Regions from separate parts of the Homo sapiens genome. Here regions 1, 2 and 4 are each linked to region 3. The links are contacts of gene promoters, found by promoter capture Hi-C in human tissues and cell types (Jung and others, 2019). All regions are on one chromosome and are shown on one strand. The core of a region is centred on a gene start or on the middle of the fragment in contact, and the rest is flanking DNA. Distances in the headings are between cores, read along the strand shown. Region 1 holds the start of STAP2 (signal transducing adaptor family member 2). Region 2 holds the start of TBXA2R (thromboxane A2 receptor). Region 3 holds the start of ATCAY (ATCAY kinesin light chain interacting caytaxin). Region 4 holds the start of TMIGD2 (transmembrane and immunoglobulin domain containing 2).

Region 1 (2,912 bases), core at 175-2,674, 460 kb after region 3:
TGTATTTTTAGTAGAGACGGGGTTTCACCATATTGGCCAGGCTGGTCTCAAACTCCTGACTTCAGGTGATCCACCTGCCTCAGCCTCCCTAAGTGCTGGGATTACAGGTGTGACCCACTGCGCCTGGCCAGCAAGACCCCATCTTCAAAAAAAAAAAAAAAAGGCTGGGTGCGGTGGCTCATGCCTGTAATCCCAGCATTTAGAGAGGCCGAGACAGGTGGATCACCTGAGGTCAAGAGTTCAAGACCAGCCGGGCCAACAAAATGAAACACTGTCTTTACTAAAAATACAAAAATTAGGTGTGGTGGTGCGTACCTGTAATCCCAGCTACTCGGGAGGCTGAGGCACGAGAATCGCTTAATCGTTTGAACCTGGGAGGTGGAGGTTGCAGTGAGCCGAGATGGTGCCACTGCACTGCAGCCTGGGTGACAGAGTGAGACTCAGTCTCAAAAATAAATAAATAAAATAAAAGCCAGAAGAGGCAGTGCATGCCTGTGGTCCCAGCTACTCAGGAGGCTGGGGCGGGAGGTTCACTTGAGCCCAGGAGTTTGAGGCTACAGTGAGCCATGATCGTGCCCCTGCACTCTAGCCTGGGTGACAGAGCAACTCTGTCTCTAACAAAAAGAAAGAAAGAAAATGAATATGCGGCATTGGGAAGGAGAGATAGGGCCTCACGGGGAACGGAGGGGCTGGGACTTTATTCTGAGGGAGACATAAGCACACACACACACACACATGCACGCACTGTCCATGGCAACTATCTGTCCTGTGGAATGTGGCCCCCGCTAGCTCTTACTGTCCTCACATGTCACCTGTCCTGGCCTTCGCCCCAGCAGCTGAGGTTCACGGAGTTTTTCCTGGGCTGGGAGCGGGAGGAAGCTCGGGAGTCAGAGGACTCCCCATTTCCTGGAGGAAGTCCCTGATCTTGTTTGTATTCAAGAGAGTGAACGAGAGACAAAAGCAAAGATTGAGACAAAGAGAGAGGGAGACTGAGACAGACATCGGGAGAGACAGACGGGGCCAGGGAGAGAGAAAGAGAAAAAGAAACCAAATTCAAAGACACACGGAGACAGAGATAGACGCACAGAGAGGCAGATGGCCAGAACCCACCCCAGTCCCCCAGCACGTGTCCTGCCCCATCCAGCACCCACCCCGCCCCCCCTTGGCGAGTGGGGAGACAGGGACTCAGAGAGGTGCCGCAGCTCCCCACGGTGGCCCAGCAGGGCCAGCCCCCGCCTCCCCACCTTACCCGGTCACAGGGCCCCTTCTTCTCTAGAAAGCTCTCATAGTAGTGTGAAGGCAGGACACCCTTAGGCTTGGGGACACGGGGTGGCCTCAGGGCAGAGGCCATGACGGAGCCAGGGTCTTCCGCCTGGCCTCTCCTTCCAGTGGGTGCCCCAGCTGGGCCGGGAAGCTGAGAAACAGGTTTCAGGGGAGTTTCCTGTGTCAGCCCGTCAACTCCCTCCCCTGCCAGGGCTGGGCAGAGGCTGATCCCAGCAGGTCCAGTGATCCTAGGGAAATCCCCGCCTCTCCGGTGTGGAACTGAGAACAGAGAGAATGTATAAGTCTACTTGAATGGGAGAATAATCTTCGCTATATCTGCAAAGACAGAGACATGGTCTGTCTCTTTATTTATTTATTTATCTATTTTTCCTATTTTGAGACAGAGTTTCACTCTGTTGCCCAGGCTGGAGTAAAGTGGTATGATCTTGGCTCACTGCGACCTCTGCCTCCCGGGTTCAAGAGACTGCGCTGCCTCCCGGGTTCAGAGACTGAGTCCAAGCTCAGTCTCCTGACTAGCGTGGATTGCAGGTGACCGCCACCACGCCTGGCTAATTTTTGTATTTGTAGTAGAGACGAGGTTTCCCCATGTTGGCCCAGGCTGGTCTCGAACTCCTGACCCCAAGTTTTCTGCCCGCCTCAGCCTCCCAAAGTGCTGAGATTACAGGCATGAGCCACCACACCTGGCCCTTTCTCTTACTTTGATGGACCCTAATGATTACATTGGGCCCACCTGGATAATCCACGCTACTCTCCCTATTTTAAAGTCAGCTGACTAGCAACTTTAATTTCATCTGCAATTTTTCTTTTTTAGACGGTGTCTCATTCTGTTGTCGATGCTGGAGTGCAGTGGCACGATCATAGTTCACTGCAGCCCTGACCTCCCAATCTCAAGCGGTCCTCCTGCCTCAGCCACCCGAAGAGCTGGGACTATAGGTGGGCACCACCACACCCAGCTAATTTATTTTCCTTTTTTAAGGATGAGTTCTCACTATGTTGCCTAGGCTGGAGTACAGTGGGGCGATCATGACTCACTGTAGCCTCGACCTTACAGGCTCAAGTGATCCTCCAGCCTCAGCCTCCAGAGTAGGTGGTACTACAGTTGCATGCCACCACACCTGGCTAATTTTTTTTTTTCTTTTTTTTGAGACAGACTCTCGCTCTGTAGCCCAGGCTGGAGTGCAGTGGCGTGATCTCGGCTCACTGCAAGCTCCGCCTCCCAGGTTCATGCCATTCGCCTGGCTCAGCCTCCCAAGTAGCTGGGATTACAGGTGCCTGCCACCACGCCCAGCTAATTTTTACACTTACTAGAGACAGGTTCTTGCTATGTTGCCCAGGCTGGTCTTTTTTTTTTTTTTTTTTTGAGACAGAGTCTTACTCTGTCACCCAGGCTGGAGTGCAGTGGAGCGATCTCGGCTTACTGCAACCTCTGCCTCCCAGGTTCAAGCAATTCTCCTGCCTCAGCCTCCCGAGTAGCTGGGATTATAGGCACGTGCCACCATGCCCAGCTAATTTGTTTGTATTTTTATTTTAGTAGAGATGGAGTTTCACTGTGTTAGCCAGGATGGTCTTAATCTCCTGACCTTGTGATCCACCTGCCTCGACCTCCCAAAGTGCTGGGATTACAGGCA
Region 2 (2,828 bases), core at 173-2,672, 270 kb before region 3:
ACAGAAACATGGCAGACACACAGACACACACACAGATAGAAACATGACAGACACACAGGCAGAAATGTGACAGAAACACAGCAGACAGATGCACAGACATGCACAGACACACATACAGAAACATGGCAGATACACAGACACACACAGATAGACACACACAGAAACACCACAGACACACCCAGACAGAAACATGACAGACACACAGGCAGAAATGTGACAGACAGAAACACAGTAGACAGACGCACAGGCATGCACAGACACACATACAGAAACATGGCAAATACATAGACACATACAGATAGACACACACAGATGGAAACATGACAGACACAGACACACACAAGCAGAAACACAACAGACACACAGACACACGCAGATAGACACACACAAGCAGAAACACAACAGACACACAGCCACACACAGACACATACAGGCAGAAACACGACAGACATAGACACACACAGATACACACATAGGCACACAGGCAGAAATGTGACAGACACAGACAGAAAAACACAGACACACAGGCAGAAACACAACAGGTACATAGATACAGACAGACACAGAAAGACACACAGAAGAACACACAGTATTTAACAGTCACAGACTCTCGGCAGAAACAAACACACGGTCACACACACAAAACCACCACACACGCACAGACACAGACACACAACCAGGGCCATGCATGGTTCACTCCCAGAGACAAGATCACACACACAGCCGCACAACCACACTCGATCCCTGCCACACCCAGGGCCTGGGCCCCCTCCCCGGCTGCAGCCCCCTGAGTCTGGGACCCCCATTCACAGCCATGTGGCCCCACAGAGACCAGAGAGCCCCCCGGACAGAATCAGCCTGGGCCGCACCCAGACCCAGCCGCCTGGGCGCCCAGGGCAGGCCTCAGGGCACCATGCCACCCGCCGGGCCACACAGGGGACACCTGGCACCTGGCCGCTGTCACCGCGGGCTTTGCGACACACCCACAGCAGGGCAGGGCCAGCGCCGGATGCGCCCAGCAGCCCGGGCTCACACCAGAGCAGTGCATCCCGCCCTAAGCCAGCGGGGCGACCTCACCTTCAGAGACCTCATCTGCGGGGCTCCCACCTGGCTGGATCCCGCGCCCGGGGGTCCGGGCGCCGTCTGGAGCTGAGCAGGCAGATGTGCGGGCGCCGAGGGTGGGGCGAGGGCTGGGGGCGGGCAGAGGGAGGGGAAGGACGGGCTCGAGCGGGACCTCCCAGGGAAACTGAGTCAGTCTGGCTGTGACCAGGGGCGGGCCCAGCAGAGGACCCACACAGATGGAGGGCGTGGCGGCACAGGACGCCCTGGGGTCGCGGCCTGGAGGGGTCCGCGGGGGCTAAGCCGAGCTGGGACGGGTGGGGGCCGCTGGCAGCCCGCGGCTCGCTCTCTCCGTCCAGTCTCTGTCTCCCGCTGTCTCTCATCAGCCCCGCCCACCCTGCGCTGGCCACGCCCCTCGGGCCCGGGCCTGGCTGACTTGGAGTCAGTGGGTGCCCCCCGCACGCCGGGACACCCTACAGCCTTCTGGGGAAGGCGGCGCCCTTGGGACCCCCAGGCCACCGGTGGCAGGGATGCAATGGCCCGCGTAGGGGTGGCAGGGGCGCTTCCTCGGGAGCCTCAGCCCCTCCAGCCGCCCAGCGCCCTGCCAGGCCTCTTCCCGGCGCTCCCGCCGCCAGGCCCGCATTATTCACCATCTGGGCAGCACCCAAGGCCTGGAGGGGGCGGGGCAGGTCCAGGCGGATCGGCTCCCGGGGGTCGCCCAGACTCCAGGGCTCCAAATTCACTGGGTGCGCTGGAACGCGGCACACAGTAGTAGTATGCCCTGCTTAATACATACAGGACATATTTGAGGCCCCTTCCAGGGGTGGGGTGGGAGGACAGAGGGATGGGGGGTGCACCAGACGACACAGCCAGACTGAGAAAGGTGGTCCCAGAGCAGGTGAGCCGGGAGGGCTGGGGTGATGGCATCGCATGGGAGGGTCTCTTGAGGAGGCTCGGAGGTGGCTTTGGAGCCAGAGGAGGAACAGTCTGGAGCCGGGAGGCTGCAGTGGGGGATGGGCACTCTTTCCTGGCCACCCCCCAGCTCGGGCTGGGGAAGGAGGGATGGAGCCCAACAGGAATGGCTGAGAAGGTGCCGGACGCAGGGACTGGGACCGTCTCTTTGCAGAGGGGGGACCTTGGGCTTCCTTGGCCTTGTTTGTACACCCGAGCCGGACAGAACCTTGAGTTAGGGACCTGGAGTGGGACCGGACAAGCTGACCTTGCCCTGACTGCACCCCACCCCGTCCCCTGGGCCCGGGAGGGCTGCTAGTCCAGGCTGTGAGTGAGGGGTATTCCCAGCCTGGCCCGGCCCTCTCGTCAGCCCAGTCCGGAAGCCCCTTCCCCGGCTACCCCGCCCACTATCCTTCCTCCTCCTGGCCTTCGGCCACACCCAACCTCCCTCCCAAAGCTCTATCCCATTAAGTCACCAGCCATTTAACACAACTTCTCTCTTTCCTGGCAAGGAGGCTATCCAACTCCTATGGATGTGGCAAAACCCTGGCTCCAAGGCTGCTTTCCCGTGAAGCCGACCTAATCTCCAAGTCTTACTCTCCCCAACCCCTCTCTGTGTTCAGCTTATACAGTGGGACAATTATGAGCTCCAAGTGAGACCTGAAACCAGGCCTGCCCTTCAGGATGCCCTAGGCTGGAGAATGAACTGGACACAGGCTGTTCCAGCCCCCTGGGGTCAGGGCTGGGCCAAAGGAAGAGACAGGGCCTAGGGAAGCCCAGAGGTGAGCTAGGAAGACATCTTGTGAGGAGAGGGCATG
Region 3 (2,756 bases), core at 141-2,640:
GCCTGGCCAACATGTTGAAACCCCGCCTCTACTAAAAATACAAAAAAAAAATTAGCCAGGTGTGGTGGTGTGTGCCTGTAATCCCAGCTACTTGGGAGGCTGAGGGAGGAGAACCACTTGAACCTGGGAGTCGGAGGTTGCAGTGAGCCAAGATCGCACCACTGTACTCCAGCCTGGCAACAGAGCGAGACTCCACCTAAAAAAAAAAAAAAAAGAAAGAAAGAAAGAAAGAAAGAAAGAAAGAAAGAAAGAAAGAAAGAAAGAAAGAAAGAGAAAGAAACACATAGGGAGCTTTTCTTGTGCCCCAGCACTGTGTTTAGTGCTGTCTATGCATTATCTCATAATGTGGAAAAGCCATAGCGGCTCCATTTCACAGATGAGAAAAACTGAGGCCCGCAGGTGAGATCACTCATGCCCACTGGTCTGCCAGCTGGGGAGTGGCTGGGCTAGAGTTCAAACCCACTTCCAGTCCGACTGCACGGCCTGCACTCTCCACCCTACCATCTTCCACAGTCTCCTTGAATTCCTCCAGGGCGAGGCCACGCCAGCGCACAACTGCAGGGGGCGCCGTTCCCACAGCAGCCCTGCAAAGTGAGTGTGCCTGAGAAACTTCCGCCTCCCCTGCACCCAGCCCTGTTTAGGGCACGAGGCTGAATCAATGGTAAGTGACCATCTAATGGACCCACAACACGGTGACCTGGGGACAGTCATTTCTTTCTTTTTTTTTTTTTTTCTTTGAGACAGAGTCTCCCTCTGCCGCCCAGGCTGCAGTGCAGTGGCGCCATCTCGGCTCACTGCAACCTCCGCCTCCCAGGTTCAAGCGATTCTCCTGCCTCAGCCTCCCGAGTAGCTGGGATTACAGGCGCACGCCACCACGCCTGGCTAATTTTTGTATTTTCAGTAGAAACGGGGTTTCACCATGTTGGCCAGGCTGGTATCGAACTCCTGACTTCAGGTGATCCTCCCTCCTCGGCCTCCGAAAGTGCTGGGATTACAGGCGTGAGCCATGGCATCCGACCTGGGGACAGTCATTTCTTTGCCTGCACAGACTTTTTGGGGGATGCCACCCCTCACCCCTGCTCCCTTTGCAAGGAGAAGTGCCAAGAAGACCTTTCCCAACTCCCCCACCCCCCATTCTCTAAGGAATGAGGCCATCTTGCCATTTATTTATTTATTTGTCCGTTGTTTTGTTTTTAAATCTCTGATGCGCCATCAGAAAATTATTTCTGCCTCTGCCCCTGGCGTGGCTTTCGGAGATGCTTGTCTGTCAGCCAATGGGGAGGATCGGATTCTGGCAGGGGGCTGTGCTTTTCCGTCAGGCCGCCACCCCCCACCCCCTCCTCCCTGCACACAAAAGCAGCATAAATTAACCGTCTTCGGGAAGCCGAGCCTCTGCCAGCCCTGAGCTGGGAAGAAGCAGCTACCTCGGAGGCAGGGCGCGCAGGCGGGCGGCGATGAGAGGGGGCGCAGCCGCAGCCCCGCGCTGGGGAGCCCACCGCTAACCCTGCACCCCACCCACCCCTGCACAAAAGAGCTGGCGGGCGCTGGCCACGTCGCCCTGGGTGACCTTCCTCGGATGCAGAATCCGCCCCTGCGAGCATCCTCTTCCTCCTAGGCTCTGAAGGCCCGGGGAGCGTGAGCGATGCCCAGCTGCACCCGGGCAGGGCTCGCCTTTGTTTGCCAGTAAGGAGGAGAGGCTGTCTCAGCTGCAGAGGTGAGTGCGCGCATCTCCCCTTCTCCCAGGATAAACCGTCTCCCTGGAAGGTTTATCCGGCAGCCTTTGCCGCCTCTAAATCCCTTTCCAGCAGATGGGGCGGGTGGGAGCAGAGAGCCACGGTCTTGTGACTCCGTGAAGGCCCTCACATCCCTGTTCCCGGTACCAGGGAAAACCGTTCCCTGAGCTGCGCCCAGCAACACAGTTTACCTTCCGCGCGCACCGTTCCCCTCTAAGTGCACCATTTTCAGGACACGCTGAGAGCTCGGGCGGATGAAAACCTCAGCTTCTCTCTGGGACGCTGAAATAGACCCATCCTAGCCCTATGTATTTCCTATTTATAACGCTAGGAAGGCCACCAGCCGACGATTTCGGGAAAAAAAAAAAAAAAAAATCTAAGTGTGTCGATAAAGGCTGTCCTGTGGGGTGGGGAGGAAGGGGGTGGTTTATGGTTTAAGACACAGATGCCTCCTCCTTATTGGAACTCGTATGTGATTTGTTAATAATCAGACATCAGGGCTCAAATGAGCGCTTCACTCCCGTTCCTTGATGTCACTGTCTTCTTTTGGCCGTCCCCAAATGCGAAGCCAGGATCTGAGTGCAGGAGTGTCCGGGGCCCACTGAGGACCCACCCCACCCCATCCTTAGAAGACTGTGGAGTCAACGCCTGTGGCTGCAGCTGGCAGGGGGTGGGGGTCGGGGGCGGGGCTGGTGGGAGTGTTCCTGGGGGCTGAGGTCACACCCAGCTCAGTATAAGGAAGGGAGAGGCGAAGACCCCTTCCTCCGGAGAGCAAATGCGTTTCTACTGCCGAGGAGAACTTACCCTCGCGGGAAGGGCCTGGCTGGCTGCTGCCACCGCCCCCCCCCCGACCCCATAGCATCCAGGAGGGATTTTTTTTTTTTCCATGCTGCGTGTTACTGTCCCTCCTCCAAGCATGAATGACGACATTGAGGACAGAGAATCGAGTGAGAAACGCTCACCCTGTACGGGGGAGGGTCTAGTTTTAGCCGTCCCCTCCCCCCACTTCCTCATCTGGCTGAG
Region 4 (2,940 bases), core at 8-2,507, 420 kb after region 3:
CCAGCTAATTTTTGTATTTTTGGTAGAGATGGGGTTTCACCAACATGGCCAGGCTGGTCTGGAACTCCTGACCTCAAGTGATCCACCTGCCTCAGTCTCCAATTTAAGTTTTAATAAAAAGACCTTGGTTGGGTGTGGTGGCTCATGCCTGTTATCCCAGCCCTTTGGGTGGCCAAGACTGGGTGATTGCTTGAGGCCAGGAGTTCAAGACCAGCCTGGGCAACATAGTGAGACCCATCTCTAAAAAACAAAAATGACTGGGCACGGTGGCTCACGCCTGTAATCCCAGCACTTTGGGAGGCCAAGGTGGGTGGATCATGAGGTCAGGAGTTCGAGACCCACCTGGCCGAGATGGCGAAACCCCGTCTCTACTAAAAATACAAAAAAAATTAGCCAGGCGCAGTGGCGCGCGCCTGCAGTCCCAGCTACTCGGGAGCCTGAGGCAGGAGAATCTCTTGAACCTGGGAGGCAGAGGTTGCAGTCAACCGAGATCGCGTCACTGCACTCTAGCCTGGGTGACAGAGCAAGACTCCTTCTCAAAACAAAACAAAACAAACAAACAAAAAAACACAAATGAACAACAAAAAAGTGCAAGCGGCTGGAATCAGAGGAGAGGGAAAGAGGAATGGAGGTTTTCGCCCCAGGAAATGTGTGAAGGGCAGCAGCCTTTGTCCTTAATTGGAAACACAGAGGGAGCTGCTGCCGGAGTAGAAAGTCTGCTTTTAGCTGTGAGAAGTCTGACGTGTCTGTTAGACCCCCGGAGAAGTTGAGGTTATGTGAAGTTCCTGGCATTTGAGATGCAATTGCAGAGGAGGGTAGAGACATGAGATCTGGAGAAGGGTATTAGGCAGCTGGAACAGCAGGTGCAAAGGCTCGAAGGCCAGATCCAGCCTTCCCATTGCGGAAACAGAGAAAGAAAAGTCCCCAGGCTAGAGCAAGAGGGAGGGAGCAAAGGCACTGCGGAGGGTGGAGATGAGAGAGGCCAGGCCAGGCTGGTATGTAGGGCAAGGTTTAGATTGTATCCTAGGGGCCCTCAGAGGATCCTTCCTTAATCCTCCAGCCCCCATCACGTTCTGAGTCTCGGAGGGAGATGGGCCTTATCTGACAGTAGAGAGACTGAAGTTTAGAGGGGCCCTGAGCTGGGGGGCAGGCAGCTGGGGATGACAGCAAGAGTGGGGTTCAGAGGGGAGGGAGGCCCAGATACTCACCCCAGATCTGCACCAGGAGGCCCAGCACCATGCCCGGGGACCCCATTCCTGGCCCATCACCCCCCTCTCCCCCTCCCAGTTGACAGACTTCCTGCCACAATCTCCGCCTCCCGCTGCAGAAGCAGATGCAACACCCAGGGCCAGACAACAGACGTCCGGTGTTCCAGCCTGCTGGGGGCTCCACTTCCTGCCACCTCGTGCCTCAGTTTCCCCAATGCATTTTCTATCTGAAAGGCAGTGTACGGACCAGGCAACATGGCTCATGTCTGTAATCCCAGCACTTTGGGAGGCCGAGGCAGGTGGATCACCTGAGGTCAGGAGTTCGAGACCAGCTTGGCCAACATGATGAAACCCCTACTAATTTCTACTAAAAATACAGAAATTAGCTGGACATGGTGATGGGCGCCTATAATCCCAGCTACTTGGGAGGCTGAGGCAGGAGAATGGCTTAAACCCGGGAGGCGGAGGTTGCAGTGAGCCAAGATCACGCCACTGCACTCCAGCCTGGGCGACAAGAGTGAAACTCCGTCTCAGAAAAAAAGAAAAGAAAGGCAGTGTATGCAAGTGAGTGGGAGGAATCCACCCCTGTGAGCTTTCTGGAAGGCTCTACATAAACACATCTAGGTACAGGAAGACACAGTGCGAGAGCAGGTGGCTCCGTGGGGGAGGGGCAGGCGACATAGGCCTGAGCAGTGAGTTAAATGACAGGGTCCCTGCCTCAATTATTTTGCTCCCAAAATGTCTTTCTTTTGCTGGGCGCTGTAGCTCACACCTGTAATCCCAGCACTTTGTGAGGCTGAGGTGGGAGGATCACTTGAGCCGAGTTTAAGATCAACCTGGGGTAACACAGCGAGATCCAATCTCTATTAAAAAAAAAAAAAAAAAAAAAAAGATACAGGCTGGGCATGGTGGCCCAGGCCTGTAATCCCAGCACTTTGGGAGGCCAAGGCGGGTGGATCACCTGAGGTCAGGAGTTCAAGACCAGCCTAGCCAACATGGCAAAACCCGGTCTCTACTAAAAATACAAAAATTAGCTGGGCCTAGTGGTGGGCGCCTGTAGTCCCAGCTACTCAGTGGGGTTGAGGCAGGAGAATCGCCAGAACTGGGGAGATGGAGATTACAGGGAGCCGAGATCCTGCCACTGCACTCCAGCCTGGGCGACAGAGTGAGACTGTGTCTCAAAAAAAAAAAAAAAGATACAAAACCAACCCAGGGTGATGGTGCATGCCTATAGTCCCAGCCACTCGGGAGGCTGAGGCAGGAGAACCGCTTGAGCCCAGGAGTTGGAGGCTGCAGTAAGCCATGATTGCGCCCCGTTACTCCAGCCTGGGCAACAGAGTGAGTCCGTCTCTAAAAAAAAATAATAATAATAATTTAAAAAATCTTCCTTTGAGGTTCAGAGAAATAGATTTCTGTTGATAACTTTGGGTCCTATTACATGACCTGCTTGGGGGTCCCGTGGAGGAGGTTCATGGGCTCTCGAGTTCCTCCCAGCCCTGCATCCCTCACCCCTGATTCTGTAGTGCATTCTGGGAGGAGGTGGCGAACCCACAGACCTCAATGTCTCAGACCCAACTGCAGAGTGACCTCCTTTCTCACTCGGACCTAGAAGGCCTGCATCGTACACAGCGTTCCCCTCCACCACAGGGAGGTTCTGCGGTGGCTATGCCTGCACCTCCCCTGCAGACACGTACACCCGCCCAGCCTCCCCTACCCACTCCTTCCCCTCCCC

What was found. The method cuts DNA at HindIII sites, captures the fragments that hold promoters and counts their contacts. A contact is called where the count stands out against the background at its distance.
Region 1: a contact is called between the fragment with the promoter of STAP2 here and the fragment with the promoter of ATCAY in region 3, in 2 of the 25 tissues and cell types used here (aorta and heart right ventricle).
Region 2: the fragment with the promoter of TBXA2R here is called in contact with the fragment with the promoter of ATCAY in region 3 in 3 of the 25 tissues and cell types used here (IMR-90 fibroblasts, pancreas and spleen).
Region 4: a contact is called between the fragment with the promoter of TMIGD2 here and the fragment with the promoter of ATCAY in region 3, in 3 of the 25 tissues and cell types used here (lymphoblastoid cells, mesenchymal stem cells and small bowel).

The regions. Positions count from the first base shown.
Region 1 is chr19:4,337,403-4,340,314 of GRCh38, forward strand. It overlaps STAP2 (signal transducing adaptor family member 2), which reads right to left and starts at 1,425. Exons shown (of 13, transcript NM_001013841.2): 1 at 1,250-1,425. The coding sequence starts at 1,351. The HindIII fragment of the contact is 19,957 bases long and covers 1-2,912 here.
Region 2 is chr19:3,605,453-3,608,280 of GRCh38, forward strand. It overlaps TBXA2R (thromboxane A2 receptor), which reads right to left and starts at 1,423. Exons shown (of 3, transcript NM_001060.6): 1 at 1,078-1,423. CACTIN-AS1 (CACTIN antisense RNA 1) reads left to right here and starts at 1,795. Exons shown (of 4, transcript NR_038865.1): 1 at 1,795-1,957. RefSeq lists enhancers at 400-974, 1,548-2,121 and silencers at 1,322-1,371, 1,482-1,561. The HindIII fragment of the contact is 21,214 bases long and covers 1-2,828 here.
Region 3 is chr19:3,879,295-3,882,050 of GRCh38, forward strand. ATCAY (ATCAY kinesin light chain interacting caytaxin) reads left to right here and starts at 1,391. Exons shown (of 13, transcript NM_033064.5): 1 at 1,391-1,714. RefSeq lists an enhancer at 1,066-1,596. The HindIII fragment of the contact is 15,458 bases long and covers 1-2,756 here.
Region 4 is chr19:4,301,132-4,304,071 of GRCh38, forward strand. It overlaps TMIGD2 (transmembrane and immunoglobulin domain containing 2), which reads right to left and starts at 1,258. Exons shown (of 5, transcript NM_001169126.2): 1 at 1,209-1,258. The coding sequence starts at 1,254. RefSeq lists an enhancer at 719-1,264. The HindIII fragment of the contact is 29,023 bases long and covers 1-2,940 here.